Regions from separate parts of the Homo sapiens genome. Here regions 2, 3 and 4 are each linked to region 1. Evidence: promoter capture Hi-C in human tissues and cell types (Jung and others, 2019). All regions are on one chromosome and are shown on one strand. The core of a region is centred on a gene start or on the middle of the fragment in contact, and the rest is flanking DNA. Distances in the headings are between cores, read along the strand shown. Region 1 holds the start of ZNF613 (zinc finger protein 613). Region 2 overlaps ZNF765-ZNF761 (ZNF765-ZNF761 readthrough). Region 3 overlaps ZNF525 (zinc finger protein 525). Region 4 overlaps ZNF816-ZNF321P (ZNF816-ZNF321P readthrough).

Region 1 (3,487 bases), core at 580-3,079:
TCCCCACCATTACCCTATAGTCCTGCCACATCCCCCTCACCGAGATGGTAGAGATAGTGATCAATGAATACTGAGGAAACTCAGAGACCAGTGCTGGCAGGAGTCCTTCGTATGCTGAGTGCTGGTCCCCTGGGCCCACTGTTCTTTCTCTATACTTTGTCAGTGTGTCTTATTTCTTTTCTCAGTCTCTCATCCCACCAGATGAGAAATACCCACAGGTGTGGAGAGGCTGGCCCCCTTCATAAGGTTGTTGAGATTTATCTATGTTGGTGCATGCATCTATGATTTGTTTTTTATTATTGTTCAGTAGTATTCCAGGGTATGATTACACTGCAATTTGCTTATACATTCATGTACTGATGGACACTTGGACTGTTTCCTGTTCAGGGTATTATGCATAAAGGTGCTAAGAACATTCTTGTGAGTCTTTGTGAGGACATATCATTTCATTACTGTTGTATAAGTATCTAGGAGTGGAATTCCTGAGTCATAAGATTCTTGCTTTTATTTTGCAATTCTCCTAAGGAGTCATATAGTTCTGTAAAGCTTTTCACTCTTCACAGATTTGATATTTTAAGTAACACGGTATGTTTCTGAAATGGAGTTTGCATTTTGGGGCATTTTCTATAGATGTATCATGAAGGACACGTGAAAACTCTGTTATAAATATAAACACTCCACTGCATGCAGGAATTTCCTTCTCATTCTTCCAATGGAATTGTCTTAATTTAGGTTGGATCAGAATTAGAATTTACGTTATGATGACTATGTAAATAATATTTATAGGTCAGTCAGGTAGTATCCTATGATTACTTTTCTTGCACAACTTTTTTTTTTCTTTTTTCTTTTTTTCCTCATGAAGGGGTTGCCAAGGCTGTGTAGTGCAGTGGCTATTGATAGGTGCGATCATAGCTCACTGCAGCCTGGAACTCCTGGGCTCAAGCGATCTTCCTGCCTTGGTCTCCCCAGTAGCTGGGACTACACGTGTGCGCCATCGCGCCCGGGCTTGCACAACTTTTCATTCTCCCAGAGTCGCCTTATTTATTCCTTCCAGAATTTTAGGCACTTGGTTCTCCGAAAGCCCCGACGTTAAGATTGACTCCACCTACAGCAGAGGGAAGGCCCTTCTTCTCTCTTAAGGAAAATTCCCGCCTCCCGCATTGGATTCCTTTTCCGGTTGGCTGGTGGCTGCTCTCTTTACCTGCACTGGGCGGTGACCGTGTCCCTCAAATGTAAATGAGGTTCCAGGGGTCGCTGTTTTTTCACTTTCCGTTGACGGGGTGAACAATATCCTCGTACCTCGATTGCCTCTCCACACCCTTTTGGTCCTCAAAAATCTTCCTCTTGTCCTCCACATGTAGCTAGATGCGTTTTCGCGGTATATGACTCAGGGTGCGATTGCTCTTTTTCCTCTGTGGAGAAAGCGTTTTCACTTGTACGGACACCTAAGTGTTAAGATGGCCGCGCCCATTGTGTCATTCCCGTCATTCTTTGTGCAAAGCGGATGACTTTTCTCCCCAGCCCGCTAAGGTGCACGTAGCCATACCATGTTTGTCTTGGCTAAGCTCGACCCTCTGAAAATAAATGAAACTTGGGCGCAGGATTTAGGTGCCAAAATATGGAGTTCTTCACCGTCCCGCGCTATCCCTGAATACTTGGGCAGAAAAGGTCCACTTTACCTTCCGTACGTGCAGGATTCAAAGATGGCTGCCTCCAGTATCCGTGACGAGAGGACGCGAACTTACTACCTCCCAGTCGTCCGTGCTCCGTACACCTGCAACTTCAGACCTTCCTCGGCCGCCGTAGGCCGGCTTGGAGGCTGGGGGAGGGCCCAGAAGTGGAATAATTCAGGAAAGTGCAGGTTCTGGGAAGTCTCGGTGGGTTCCCCGCAAAATCAGGTCTGTGTGTGGGTCTGTCTGTCAGGATGAGGGGAGGAGGGTGTCTGTGGGCGTCCGTTTAGTGCGGAGCCGTGGAGTTTGTGGGGGAAGCGGGAGCAAGTGGGAGTCGGGGTATTGGGGTTGGGGCGTCTCCGGAGTCAGCCCTGAGGGATCCCAGTGGTCGGTGGTCAGAGTCTGTCCAGAGCAACACTTGGAAGTCCGTGATCAGGGTTTGGTGCCTTTGCGGGTCACTCTGTAGGGCTCGGTGATTGAGGACTGGAGTGAGGAGTGGTTTTTGTCAAGGAAAACTGTGTCTGCTTCGGATTCGGGGTTTTATTTTTTATTTTTGAGACAGGGTCTCGCTCTGTCACACAGGCTTGAGTGCAGTGGCGCAATCGTGGCTCACTGCAGCCTCCATCTCCCGGGGCTCAGGTGATTTTCCCACCTCAGCTTTCCCGAGTAGCTGGGACTACAGGTGAGCGCCACCACGCTATCTATCTATCTATCTATCTATCTAATCTGTCTAATCTAATCTATCTATCTATCTATCTATCTATCTAATTTATCTATCTAATCTATCTGTTTATTGCAGAGACGGGGGTCTCACTATGTTGCCCAGGCTGGTCTCCAACTCCTGGCCTCAAACGATCCTCTCACCTTGGCCTCCCAAAGTGCTGGGATTACGGGCGTGAGCCTTCGCTCCAGGCTGTAATCAGGATTTAATATGCGACTCAGTGAGGAGGAGCCCGGGTTCATGTGAACCTAGGTGTGTGGTCCAGGTTTTTGGATTAATCTAAGGGGGTGTGACCATGTTAGGGAGGTCTAGATGTGACAGTCGTGGAGAAGCTTGTGAAGGCTGAAGCCTTGGCAGCCAGGGCATCCTGATTGGTGTGTGTGTTCAGGTCCAACGGTACATTCCCTCTCAGTCCCTTTTAAGTTTCTCTGCAAGGACTGGTTTACAAATCTCATTTGACTTCTCACATCTCTCCTTTCTCTCATCCTGGTAAATAGGAAAGCTTTGGGGAAGATCAAAGATTAATCAAATCTAAAATGGTAAGGTGGCCTGGCGCGGTGGCTCACGCCTATATTCCCAGCATTTGGGAGGCCAAAGTGGGCGAATTGCTCGAGCCTAGAAGTTGGAGATCAGCCTGAACAACATAGCCTGTCTCTCCAAAAAATACAAATATTAACTGGGTGTGGTAACACACGCCTGTAGTCTCAGCTACTCGGGAGGCTGAGGTGGGACGATCACGTGACCCCGGGAGTTCTAGGCTGCAGTGAACTATGATTGAGCACTGCACTCCAGCCTGGGCAACAGAGTGAGACCCTGCCTCAAAAAAAAAAAAAAAAGAAAAGAAAAGGAGAAAAGAAAAAGGAAAAAACAAAACGAAGAAAATGATAAGGTTTCTATTAAAGATTTTCGTTCTTCTTCCTCAGGTTTACTGTGTGAATGTGTGTATACACACACGTAAATATTTTCTTTCAGGTTCTGACACAAGTAAAACATCTCTCTTATCCCAAAATGTGTTCCCCAGTAATGACTTTTGATAAGATTTTTGTATATTTCAATTTCAGTTTTCTATGCTTGATTTTCACAATGCAGATAAGCT
Region 2 (3,487 bases), core at 161-2,660, 1.5 Mb after region 1:
TAATGAGTGTGGCAAGACCTTTAGTCGGAAGTCATACCTCACATGCCATCATAGACTTCATACTGGAGAGAAAGCTTACAAGTGTAATGAGTGCGGCAAGACCTTTAGTTGGAAGTCATCCCTTACCTGCCATCGTAGACTTCATTCTGGAGAGAAACCTTACAAGTGTAAGGAGTGTGGCAAGACCTTCAATCAGCAGTTAACCCTTAAACGCCATCGTAGACTTCATAGTGGAGAGAACCCTTACAAATGTGAAGATAGTGACAAAGCTTACAGTTTCAAATCAAACCTTGAAATACATCAGAAAATTCATACTGAAGAGAATCCTTACAAGTGTAATGAGTGTGGCAAGACCTTCAGTCGGACGTCATCCCTTACATGCCATCGTAGACTTCATACCGGAGAGAAACCTTACAAATGTGAAGAATGTGACAAAGCTTTCCGTGTGAAATCAAACCTTGAAGGACATAGGAGAATTCATACTGGAGAGAAACCTTACAAGTGTAATGAGTGTGGCAAGACCTTTAGTCGGAAGTCATATTTTATATGCCATCATAGACTTCATACTGGAGAGAAACCTTATAAGTGTAATGAGTGTGGCAAGAACTTTAGTCAGAAGTCATCCCTTATATGCCACCATAGACTTCATACTGGAGAGAAACCTTACAAGTGTAATGAGTGTGGCAAGACCTTTAGTCAGAAGTCAAACCTTACATGCCATCGTAGACTTCATACTGGAGAAAAACAAGTGTAATGAATGTGGTGAGGTTTTTAATCAACAAGCACACCTTGCAGGTCATCATAGAATTCATACTGGGGAGAAACCTTAGAAATGTGAAGCATGTGATAAAGTTTACAGTGGCAAATCAAGCCTCAGAAGACAGGAGAATTCATACTGGAGAGAAAGCTTATAAATGTGAAGAATGTCACAAAGTTTACAGTCGCACATCAAACCGTGAAAGACAGGAGAATTCATACTGGAGAGAAACCATAAAAATGTAAGAGTTTGTGACAAGGCTTTTGGGCATGATTCGCACCTGGCACAACATGCTAGAATTCACACTGGAGAGAAACCTTACCAGTGTAATGAGTGTGGCAAAGCCTTTAGTAGGCAGTCAACACTTGTTTACCGTCAGGCAATCCATGGTGTAGGGAAACTTTACTAAGGTAATGATTGTCACAAAGTCTTCAGTAATGCTACAACCATTGTGAATCACTGGAGAATCCATAAGGAAGAGAGATCATACTAGGGTAATAAATGTGGCAGATTTTTCAGACATTGTTCATACCTTGCAGTTCATCGGTGAACTCAACGCTGGAGAGAAACCTTACAAATGTCATGACTGTGGCAAGGTCTTCAGTCAAGCTTCATCCTATGCAAAACATAGGAGAATTCATACAGGAGAGAAACCTCACATGTGTGATGATAGTGGCAAAGCCTTCACTTCACACCTCATGAGACATCAGAGAATGCATACTGGACAGAAATCTTACAAATGTCATCAATGTGCCAAGGTCTTCAGTCTGAGTTCACTCCTTGCAGAATATGAGAAAATTCATTTTGGAGGTAGTTGGTCCATATGCAATGAGTAGAGCAAACCATCAAGCATTAATTGACATTAGGGTCAATTCAGCATTGACTTGAGTTTGTATTGACTTAACATTGAGTTCAAGCATTAATTGACATTAGTGTTTATGTTAAGAGGATTGGGCCAGGCACATCAGCTTACACCTGTAATCTGAGCGCTTTGGGAGGCCAAGGTGGGTAGATCACTTGAGGTCAGGAGTTTGAGATCAGCCTGGCCAACAGACGTGAGCCATTTTCCCAGCCTGTTTTTTGTTTCTTTAAAAAAACTGATAGGGATTTTTATGGATATCATGTTGAATCTAAATCACATTGGGTTATTATATAATCATTTCACAATATTAATTTTTCCAAGCTATCAATATGGGTTGTAGCTCAATGTTTTTAATCATTTTGATCAATGTTTGTAGATTTCAAGGTACAAACTTCTGACCTTTGTACGTTTATTTCTAAGTATTTCTTTAAGTTCTCCAGCAAATGGAAGTGTTTTAAAATTTTCTTTTAAAATTGTTTATTGTTAAAGTATGGAAATTCAACTAATTTTTGGTGCTGATACTGTATTGTGCAAATCCACTGACTATGTTACTTAGTTCCAGTAGTATTTTGGTTGGCTCTTTGTGATTTTCTACACAGAAGATTATGTCATCTACAAACAAATATAATTTTACTTCTTACTTTCTGATTTGGATGAGTTTTATTTCCTCTGCTATTTCATTGCTCTGGCTGGGACAGCCAGTATTGATTGAATAGAAGGGGTGAGAGCATTCTTGCATCATGTGAGAGCCTCCAGGAAAGGCATTACATTTTCCCTGCTTGACTGTTTACTCATTGGTCATTTCATGGACGGTCTTTCTATTGTTGAGGTAAATTTCCTTTTCTGTCTATTTTGTTTAGGATTTCTATGATGACTGGATTTTGAATTTTGTGAAATGCTTTTTCTCTATTAAGATGATGTGGTTTTCATCTTTTGTTCTGTTCAAGTGGTATATCACATTGATTTGCTTGAATATGTTGAACCATCCTTGCATCCCAGAAATAAGTGGCACTTGAATATCTACATTTTTTTAATGTCCTCTTGAATACAGTTTTCTAGTACAATGGATCTTGAAGAAGTTCATGGAAAAATACCTATTATGAGAAAATTTGCATGAATTTTAGTTTTTGCAACAAAACACTGGTACAAGTCTGTTATGTCTGAACAGGCTGTAGTTTAAGGCACTCAGAAGGATAAGACATGAGTTTGAAAAGAGACTCTATCAAAGCAATATAAATTCTGCTAAAATTGAAACAAGAAGAAACATCAAATTTACGATGAGATCAGATGCAGTGTCTCAGGTCTATAATCCCAGCACTTTCAGAGGCCATGACAGGTGGGTCACATGAGCCCAGGTATTCAAGACGAGCCTGGGCAACATGGTGAAACCCCCTTGTCTACAAAAAATACAAAAATTAGCTGGGCATGGTGGCATCTGACTGCAGGGCCAGCTACTGTGGAGTCTGTGGTGGAGGATGGCTTGAGCCTGGGAGGTCGAGGCTGCAGTGAGCTGTGGTCATGCCACTGCACTCCAGCGTGGGTGATGGAGTGAGATACTGTCTCAATAAAAGAATAATTATGGGCCGGGCGGCGTGGCTCAATCCTGTAATCCCAGCACTTTGGGAGGCTGAGGCGGGTGGATCATGAGGTCAGGAGATTGAGACCATCCTGGCTAACACGGTGAAATCCCGTCTCTACTAAAAATACAAAAAAAAAAAAAAATTAGCCGGGCATGCTGGAGGGTGCCTGTAGTCCCAGCTACTCAGGGAGGCTGAGGCAGGAGAACGGCATGAACCCGGGAGGCAGAACTTGCAGTGAGCCGAGATCATGCCACTGCACTCCAGCCTGGGGGACAGAGTGAGACTCCG
Region 3 (3,487 bases), core at 407-2,906, 1.5 Mb after region 1:
GCCTCAGCCTTCTGAGTAGCTGAGATTACAGGCACCCGCCACCACACCCAGCTAATTTTTTTGTATTTTTAGTAGAGTTATGGTTTCACCACGTTGGCCAGGCTATTCTTGAACTCCTGACCTCATGGTCTTCCCACCTCGGCCTCCCAAAGTGCTGGAATTACAGGCATGAGCCACTGCACCCGGCTGTTAGTGAATTCTTATTCATTATAATGCTGCATATTTTTTTGACCTCATACATCAGAAGGTAGTGATCTTAACATGTATTTCAGTTCTTATATTGTGTGCTGGTGGTAAGTAGAAGTTGTGCTTTTTTCTTAACAGGGAATTGTTTAGAATTCTGCAGTTTGTATAAATGTACTTATGATTTGCTTGCTGGTTTTATGCGTTACAGTTATTTTACCAATTCATTTTTATGATTTTACATAAAGCTTTTCGGTATGTGGTATGCAATATAACTGACACAGTTTACTAGTTAATGTCACAAAGTGCCAGCGGGTGCTGTGGCTCACGCCTGCAATCCCAGGACTTTGGGAGGCTGAGGCGGGTGGATCACTTGAGGTCAAAAGTTCAAGGCCAGCCTGGCCAATATGATGTAACCCTATCTCTACTAAAAATACAAAAATTAGCCAAGCATGCTGGCATGTGCCTGTAATCCCATGTACTCAGGAGGCTGAGGCAGGAGAATGGCTTGAACCCAAAAGGTGGAGGTTGCAGTGAGCTGAGATCAGGCCATTGCCCTCCAGCCTGTTGTGACACAGTGAAACATTGTCTCAAAAATACAAAAATAAAAAAAAAATTTTAAATGTTACAATATGCCTTTTCTGCATGGATATAGGTAATTTTATGACAGTTATTCAGAAAAATATTTTTTTTTTTTTGAGATGGAGTCTCACTTTGTCATCCAGGCTGAAGTACAGTGGTGCGATCTCGGCTCACTGCAACCTCTGCCTCTTGGGTTCAAGCAATTCTTGTACCTCACCCTTGCGAGTAGCTGGGAGTACAGACGTGCACCACCATGCCTTGCTAAATTTTGTAAACTTTTCTTATCTTCTCAGTGCTATGATTATTTAACAATACAGAATTTCCATTGATTTTGGTTATCCTTACATGAGCTTGCTGTGGATTATTTACCAGTATATTATATTGTGTGGTCCTTTAGTATTTATTTGTATACAGTAAGTATGCTGTAAATATGAAGAATATATACTTTTCATTGATGTGACAGTGATATGTCTTTTGCAAACTGTTAGACACTTTAGGGTCACAGTGGAAAAATACTCCTTATTTTAGGCTTACACATGTTTGTGCCCTTCAGTGTTTTGTCATGATATTGGAAATAAGCTTTCATAATAATAATTTGAAGCACATGTAATCGCCCTTTATTTATTAAAGAATCTTACGATTTTGTGTTCCTAAACTTTGAAGATCATGTTTGGGAAGTTTAAAATCAGTATTGTCTTTTGTGTACCTATTAGTGTTTATATTTTGTAGGTATCTCTTCCAAATGCACAATGAAGGAGTTCTCATCAACAGCACAAGGCAATACAGAAGTGATCCACACAGGGACATTGCAAAGACATGAACGTCATCACATTGGAGATTTTTCCTTCCAGGAAATTGAGAAAGATATTCATAACTTTGAGTTTCAGTGGCAAGAAGATGAAAGAAATGGCCATGAAGCACCCATGACAAAAATCAAAAAATTGATGGGTAGTACAGAGCAATATGATCACAGGCATGCTGGAAACAAGCCTATTAAATATCAGCTTGGATCAAGCTTTCATTCACATCTGTCTGAACTCCACATATTTCAGCCCAAAGGGAAAATTAATAATCAAGTGGAGAAGTCTATCAACGATGCTTCCTCGGTTTCAACAGCCCAAAGAATTTCTTGTAGGCCCAAAACCCATATATCTAATAACTATGGGGATAATTTTCTGAATTATTCATTACTCACACAAAGACAGGAAGTACGCATGAGAGAAAAATCTTTCCAATGTATTGAGAGTGGCAAAGCCTTTAATTATAGCTCACTCTTAAGGAAACATCAGATTATTCATCTAGGAGAGAAACAATATAAATGTGATGTATGTGACAAGGTCTTTATTCGGAAGCGATACCTTGCACGCCATCGTAGATGTCACACTGGTGAGAAACCTTACAAGTGTAATGAGTGTGGCAAGTCCTTCAGTCAGATGTCATCCCTTACATATCATCATCGACTTCATACTGGAGAGAAACCTTACAAATGTGAAGAATGTGACAAAGCTTTCAGACACAATTCAGCCCTTCAAAGACATAGGAGAATTCATACTGGAGAGAAACCACATAAGTGTAATGAGTGTGGCAAGACCTTTAGTCAGAAGTCATACCTTGCATGCCATCGTAGCATTCATACTGGAAAGAAACCTTACGAATGTGAAGAATGTGACAAAGCTTTCAGTTTCAAATCAAACCTTGAAAGTCATAGGATAACTCATACTGGAGAGAAACCATACAAGTGTAATGATTGTGGCAAGACCTTCAGTCATATGTCAACCCTTACATGCCATCGTAGACTTCATACTGGAGAGAAACCTTACAAGTGTGAAGAATGTGATGAAGCTTTCCGTTTCAAATCAAGTCTTGAAAGACATAGGAGAATTCATAATGGAGAGAAACTGTACAAATGTAATGAGTGTGGCAAGACCTTCAGTCAGGAGTTATCCCTTACCTGCCATTGTAGACTTCATAGTGGAGAGAAACCTTGCAAGTGTGGAGAATGTGACAAGGCTTACAGTTTCAAATAAAATCTTGAAATACGTCAGAAAATTCATACTGGAGAGAAATGTTATAAGTGTAATGATTGTGGCAAGATCTTCAGTCATACGTCATCCATTGTATACCATCATAAATTTCATAGTGGAGAGAAACCTTACAAATGTGAAGAATGTGATGAAGCTTTCAGTTTCAAATCAAACCTTGAAAGACATAGGAGAATTCACACTGGTGAGAAACCTTACAGGTGTAATAGGTGTGGCAAGACCTTCAGTCATACATCATCCCTTACATGCCATCATAGACTTCATACTGGAGAGAAACCTTACAAATGTGAAGAATGTGATGAAACTTTCAGATACAAATCAAATCTTGAAAGACATAGGAGAATTCATAATGGAGAGAAACCGTACAAGTGTAATGAGTGTGGCAAGACCTTCAGTCAGAAGTCATGCCTTACACGCCATCATAGACTTCATACTGGAAATAAATCTTATAAGTGTAATGAGTGTGGCAAGACCTTCAGTAAGGAGTTAACACATGCCATCATAGACGTCATACTGGAGAGAAACCTTAGAAGTGCAATGAGTGTGGCAAAACCTTTCATAGGCAGTCAGCGCTTATTTACCATCAAGCAATCCATGGCAGAGGGAAACTTTACAAATGTAATGATTGTCACCACGTCTTCAGTAATGCTACAACTATTGCAAATCATTGGAGAATCCAT
Region 4 (3,487 bases), core at 501-3,000, 1.0 Mb after region 1:
TGCTGGGCTGTCTCACACCTGTAATCCCAGCAATTTGGGAAGCTCAGGTGGGAGGGCCACTTAAGCCCAGGAGTTCGAGGCTGCTGTAAACTAGAATTGTGCCATTGCACTCCAGACTGGGCCCCAGAGTGACACCGTGTCTCTTAAAACAAAAGTTTGGCGTCAGAGACATATTGACTCACTAGTGTAGCTTCAAATGCATTACAAAATCAGACACAAAATATCTCCCCTAGTTTGTCTCCTCTTCCAGAATTTACCAGATTAACCAGTGAACATTAATGTATGACTTTCATATACAGTTTCTCTGATCTGGTCCACAAAGAGCTAAACATGCATCCAGATGTGGCCCCTGAACAATCCCTGCTGCCCAACATCACTGACACCATGGGGCCCACACCCCATCTCCATCCATGTCTGGTGTGAGCCCTTCCCAGGACCATGCCCAGTGGAGCCTCTTCCCAAGCTCATGTCACTAGGTTATAGGAGATGGAATTTAAGTGAAGATGAGAGGGACTGAGAAAAGACACGGGTGAGTGCGAGCAAACGTGTGATGTAGAATGCTTCACACTCAGAGAAGATTGGCTACTACAATACCTGGCACTTCAGAAAGGAAAGAGACAGAAGAATCCACCAAGGAATATCACTTACCTGAGGAAGAGCCATCCCTGGCTCCTTTTCTTTGCTCTTCTTGGTGGCTTCCTCACGTAACATGAGTCTTTGGAAATCCTGTATGTTAAAAAAGCAAGAGATTTAATATTTAGAAACCATTGACTCCTTTCCTGTGACAAAACACACACACAGGGGAAACCTCACCCGAGAGAAAGATGGTCCTTTGCTACCCACTGCACCAGAGACCATGCAGAGATAAGAAAGTTCCACAGGAAGACCTACAAATGTAATTTTGACCCGTTTTCAGATCTTGCTCCCCTCCTGGAAAAGTCCACACACACGCTGCAGCAGGACACAGATCTTCAGGGCACAGATCTAGCCCTAACCAAACTCCATGCAGAGCACAGCCCCCTCACCTCCCTGTGGATCACAGACTGATCTCAGCTCTCAACATGGAGGAAACTTCCTTGATGTTTAATGCTGGACACAGATAAGAATCACCAGTGCCATTGTAAGTATTATTGAGTGTGGGTCCCATCCTATTATAATAGCAATCTGATAAAACAGCATGCCTGTAATCCCAGCATTTTGGGAGGCCGATGCAGCTGGATCCCTTCAGCTCTGGGGTTGGACACCAGCCTGAGCAACATGGCGAAAGCCCATCTCTACGAAGAACACAAAAATTAGTGTGGTGTGGTGGCACGCAGCTGTGGTCCCAGCTACTCTGGAGGCTGAGGTAGGAAGCAGACCACCACTTCTCCTGCTGCCTTCCTCCCTCCCCCTTGCCTAGTTTATAAGACAGGAGGAAAGGAAGAAAGCAAAAAGTTAGAAAGAAACAGAAGTAAGATAAATAGCCAGACGACCTTGGTGCTACCACCTGGCCCCGGTGGTTAAAAATAATAATAATACCAACCCCTGACCTAAACTACTTATGTTATCTGTAAATTCTAGACATTGTATGAAGAAGCATTGCAAAAGTTTCTGTTCTGTTAGCTGATGCACGTAGTGTCAAGTCACATTCCCCACACTTGCTTGATCTATCATGACCCTTTCACGTGGATGCCTTAGAGCTGTAAGCCCTTAAAAGGGCCAGGAATTTCTTTTTCAGGGAGCTCAGTTCTTGAGACACGAGTCCTCTGATGCGCTGGGCCGAATAAAGCCACTTCCTTCTTTAATCCGTTGTCTGAGAGGTACTGTCTGCGGCTCGTCATGCTACATTTCTTGGTTCCCTGACTTGGAAGCGAGGTAATTAACAGAAGGTCGAGGCAACCCCTTAGGTGACTTAGGCCTGCCCTTTGGAGCATCCCTGCTGGGTACTCCAGCCAGCTTGGGCGACATGGATTCTGAGAGTGCTACCAGGTAGGCATGTGCCCCAGAAAGATACTTAGCCTGGCCATCCGAACTTGCAGTGTAACCAGTGTGCTTACTGTAAAGAAATAGGATATTAGAAGGACAAGTGCCCTCAGCTAAAAGGAAAACAAGGTGGCTCAGAGCAGGAGGCCCCAGAAGGAGCCCTGTTCAATATAGCAGAAGAGTTACTGAACTGAGGAGGACCAGGCTCAACTGCCCCCAAGGAGCCCATGGTCAAGATGACAGTTAGGGGCAAAGACATTGATTTTCGTATTGATACCAGTGCTGAACATTCAGTAGTAACCGCCCCGGTTGCCCCCCTTTCCAAAAAGACTATTGTTATAATCGGAGCCATGGGAGTTTTATCAAAGCAAGCTTTCTGTTGCCCCAGACTTGTACTGTAGGAAGACATAAAGTGATTCACCAGTTCTTGTACATGCCTGACTTGAAAGGACTTGAAAGGACTTGCTTAGCGAGCTGAGAGCCACCGTCTCTTCTACAGAGCACAGCTCTTTACAGCTAAGGTTACCCAGAACGGGAGTCATTATGGCCCTTACAGTCCCCCAGGAAGAGGAATGGAGACTTCTTTTAACTGAGCCAGGCCAAGAGATAAGACCAACTCTGGCTAAGCGGTGGCCAAGGGTGTAGACAGAAGACAACCCTCCAGGGATGGCAGTTAACCAAGCCCTGGTACTTATAGAAGTTAAGCGTAGGGCCCAGCCAGTCAGGCAAAAACAGTACCTGGTCCCCAGAGAAGATCTTGAAAGTATCCAGGTCCATCTCAAGAGCCTGAGAGCCTTTAGAATTACAGTCCCTTGTCAGTCTCCCTGGAACACTCCCCTCCTGCCTGTTCCCACGCCAGGGACCAATGACTACAGGCCGGTACAGGACTTGCACTTAGTCAATCAAGCTACAGTGACTTTACATCCAACAGTACCTAACCCGTACACGTTAAGGTTGCTGCCAGCTGAGGACAGCTGGTTCTCTGGCTTAGACCTGAAAGACACTTTCTTTAGCATTAGACTAGCCCCTCAGAGCCAGAAGCTGTTTGCCTTTCAGTAGGAAGATCTGGGATCAGGTGTCACTGCTCAGTACTCTTGGACCCGGCTTCTGCAAGGGTTCAAGAACTCCCCCACCATCTTCAGGGAAGCACTGGCTCGGGACCTCCAGAAGTTTCCCACCAGAGACCTAGGCTGCGCATTGCTCCAGTACGTTGATGACCTTCTGTTAGGACACCCCATGGCAGTTGAGTGTGCCAAGGGAAAGGATGCCCTACTCTGGCCCTTGGAGGACTATAGGTATAAGTTGTCCAAGAAGAAAGCCCAGATCTGCTGACAGCAGGTACATTACCTAGGATTTACTATCCAACAGGGGGAGCGCAGCCTGGGATCAGAAGGAAAGCAGGCTTTTTGCAACCTACTGAAGCCTAAGACCAGAAAGCAGGTGAAAGAATTCTTAGGTGCTGTGAGGTTCTGCAGACCGTGGATCCCAAACTTTGTAGTACTGGCCAAGCCTCTGTACGGAGTCA

Evidence for each region. The method cuts DNA at HindIII sites, captures the fragments that hold promoters and counts their contacts. A contact is called where the count stands out against the background at its distance.
Region 2: a contact is called between a fragment that was not itself captured here and the fragment with the promoter of ZNF613 in region 1, in 2 of the 25 tissues and cell types used here (aorta and stomach).
Region 3: a contact is called between a fragment that was not itself captured here and the fragment with the promoter of ZNF613 in region 1, in 2 of the 25 tissues and cell types used here (aorta and pancreas).
Region 4: a contact is called between a fragment that was not itself captured here and the fragment with the promoter of ZNF613 in region 1, in 1 of the 25 tissues and cell types used here (aorta).

Annotation. Positions count from the first base shown.
Region 1 is chr19:51,925,643-51,929,129 of GRCh38, forward strand. It overlaps ZNF613 (zinc finger protein 613), which reads left to right and starts at 1,830. Exons shown (of 6, transcript NM_001031721.4): 1 at 1,830-1,898. RefSeq lists enhancers at 850-1,613, 1,469-1,768. The HindIII fragment of the contact is 6,749 bases long and covers 1-3,487 here.
Region 2 is chr19:53,455,995-53,459,481 of GRCh38, forward strand. It overlaps ZNF765-ZNF761 (ZNF765-ZNF761 readthrough), which reads left to right. Exons shown (of 13, transcript NM_001350496.2): 13 at 1-2,267. The coding sequence ends at 754. It overlaps ZNF761 (zinc finger protein 761), which reads left to right. Exons shown (of 5, transcript NM_001289951.2): 5 at 1-2,267. The coding sequence ends at 754. Among named protein-coding and RNA genes, the nearest start is that of ZNF813, 10 kb to the right of the region's middle. The HindIII fragment of the contact is 5,248 bases long and covers 1-3,487 here.
Region 3 is chr19:53,379,228-53,382,714 of GRCh38, forward strand. ZNF525 (zinc finger protein 525) reads left to right here. Exons shown (of 4, transcript NM_001348156.2): 4 at 1,495-3,487. The coding sequence ends at 2,792. Among named protein-coding and RNA genes, the nearest start is that of ZNF765, 14 kb to the right of the region's middle. The HindIII fragment of the contact is 5,110 bases long and covers 1-3,487 here.
Region 4 is chr19:52,955,379-52,958,865 of GRCh38, forward strand. ZNF816-ZNF321P (ZNF816-ZNF321P readthrough) reads right to left here. Exons shown (of 4, transcript NM_001202473.2): 2 at 649-726. The coding sequence starts at 711. It overlaps ZNF816 (zinc finger protein 816), which reads right to left. Exons shown (of 4, transcript NM_001202457.3): 2 at 649-726. The coding sequence starts at 711. Among named protein-coding and RNA genes, the nearest start is that of ZNF816, 5.8 kb to the right of the region's middle. The HindIII fragment of the contact is 5,247 bases long and covers 1-3,487 here.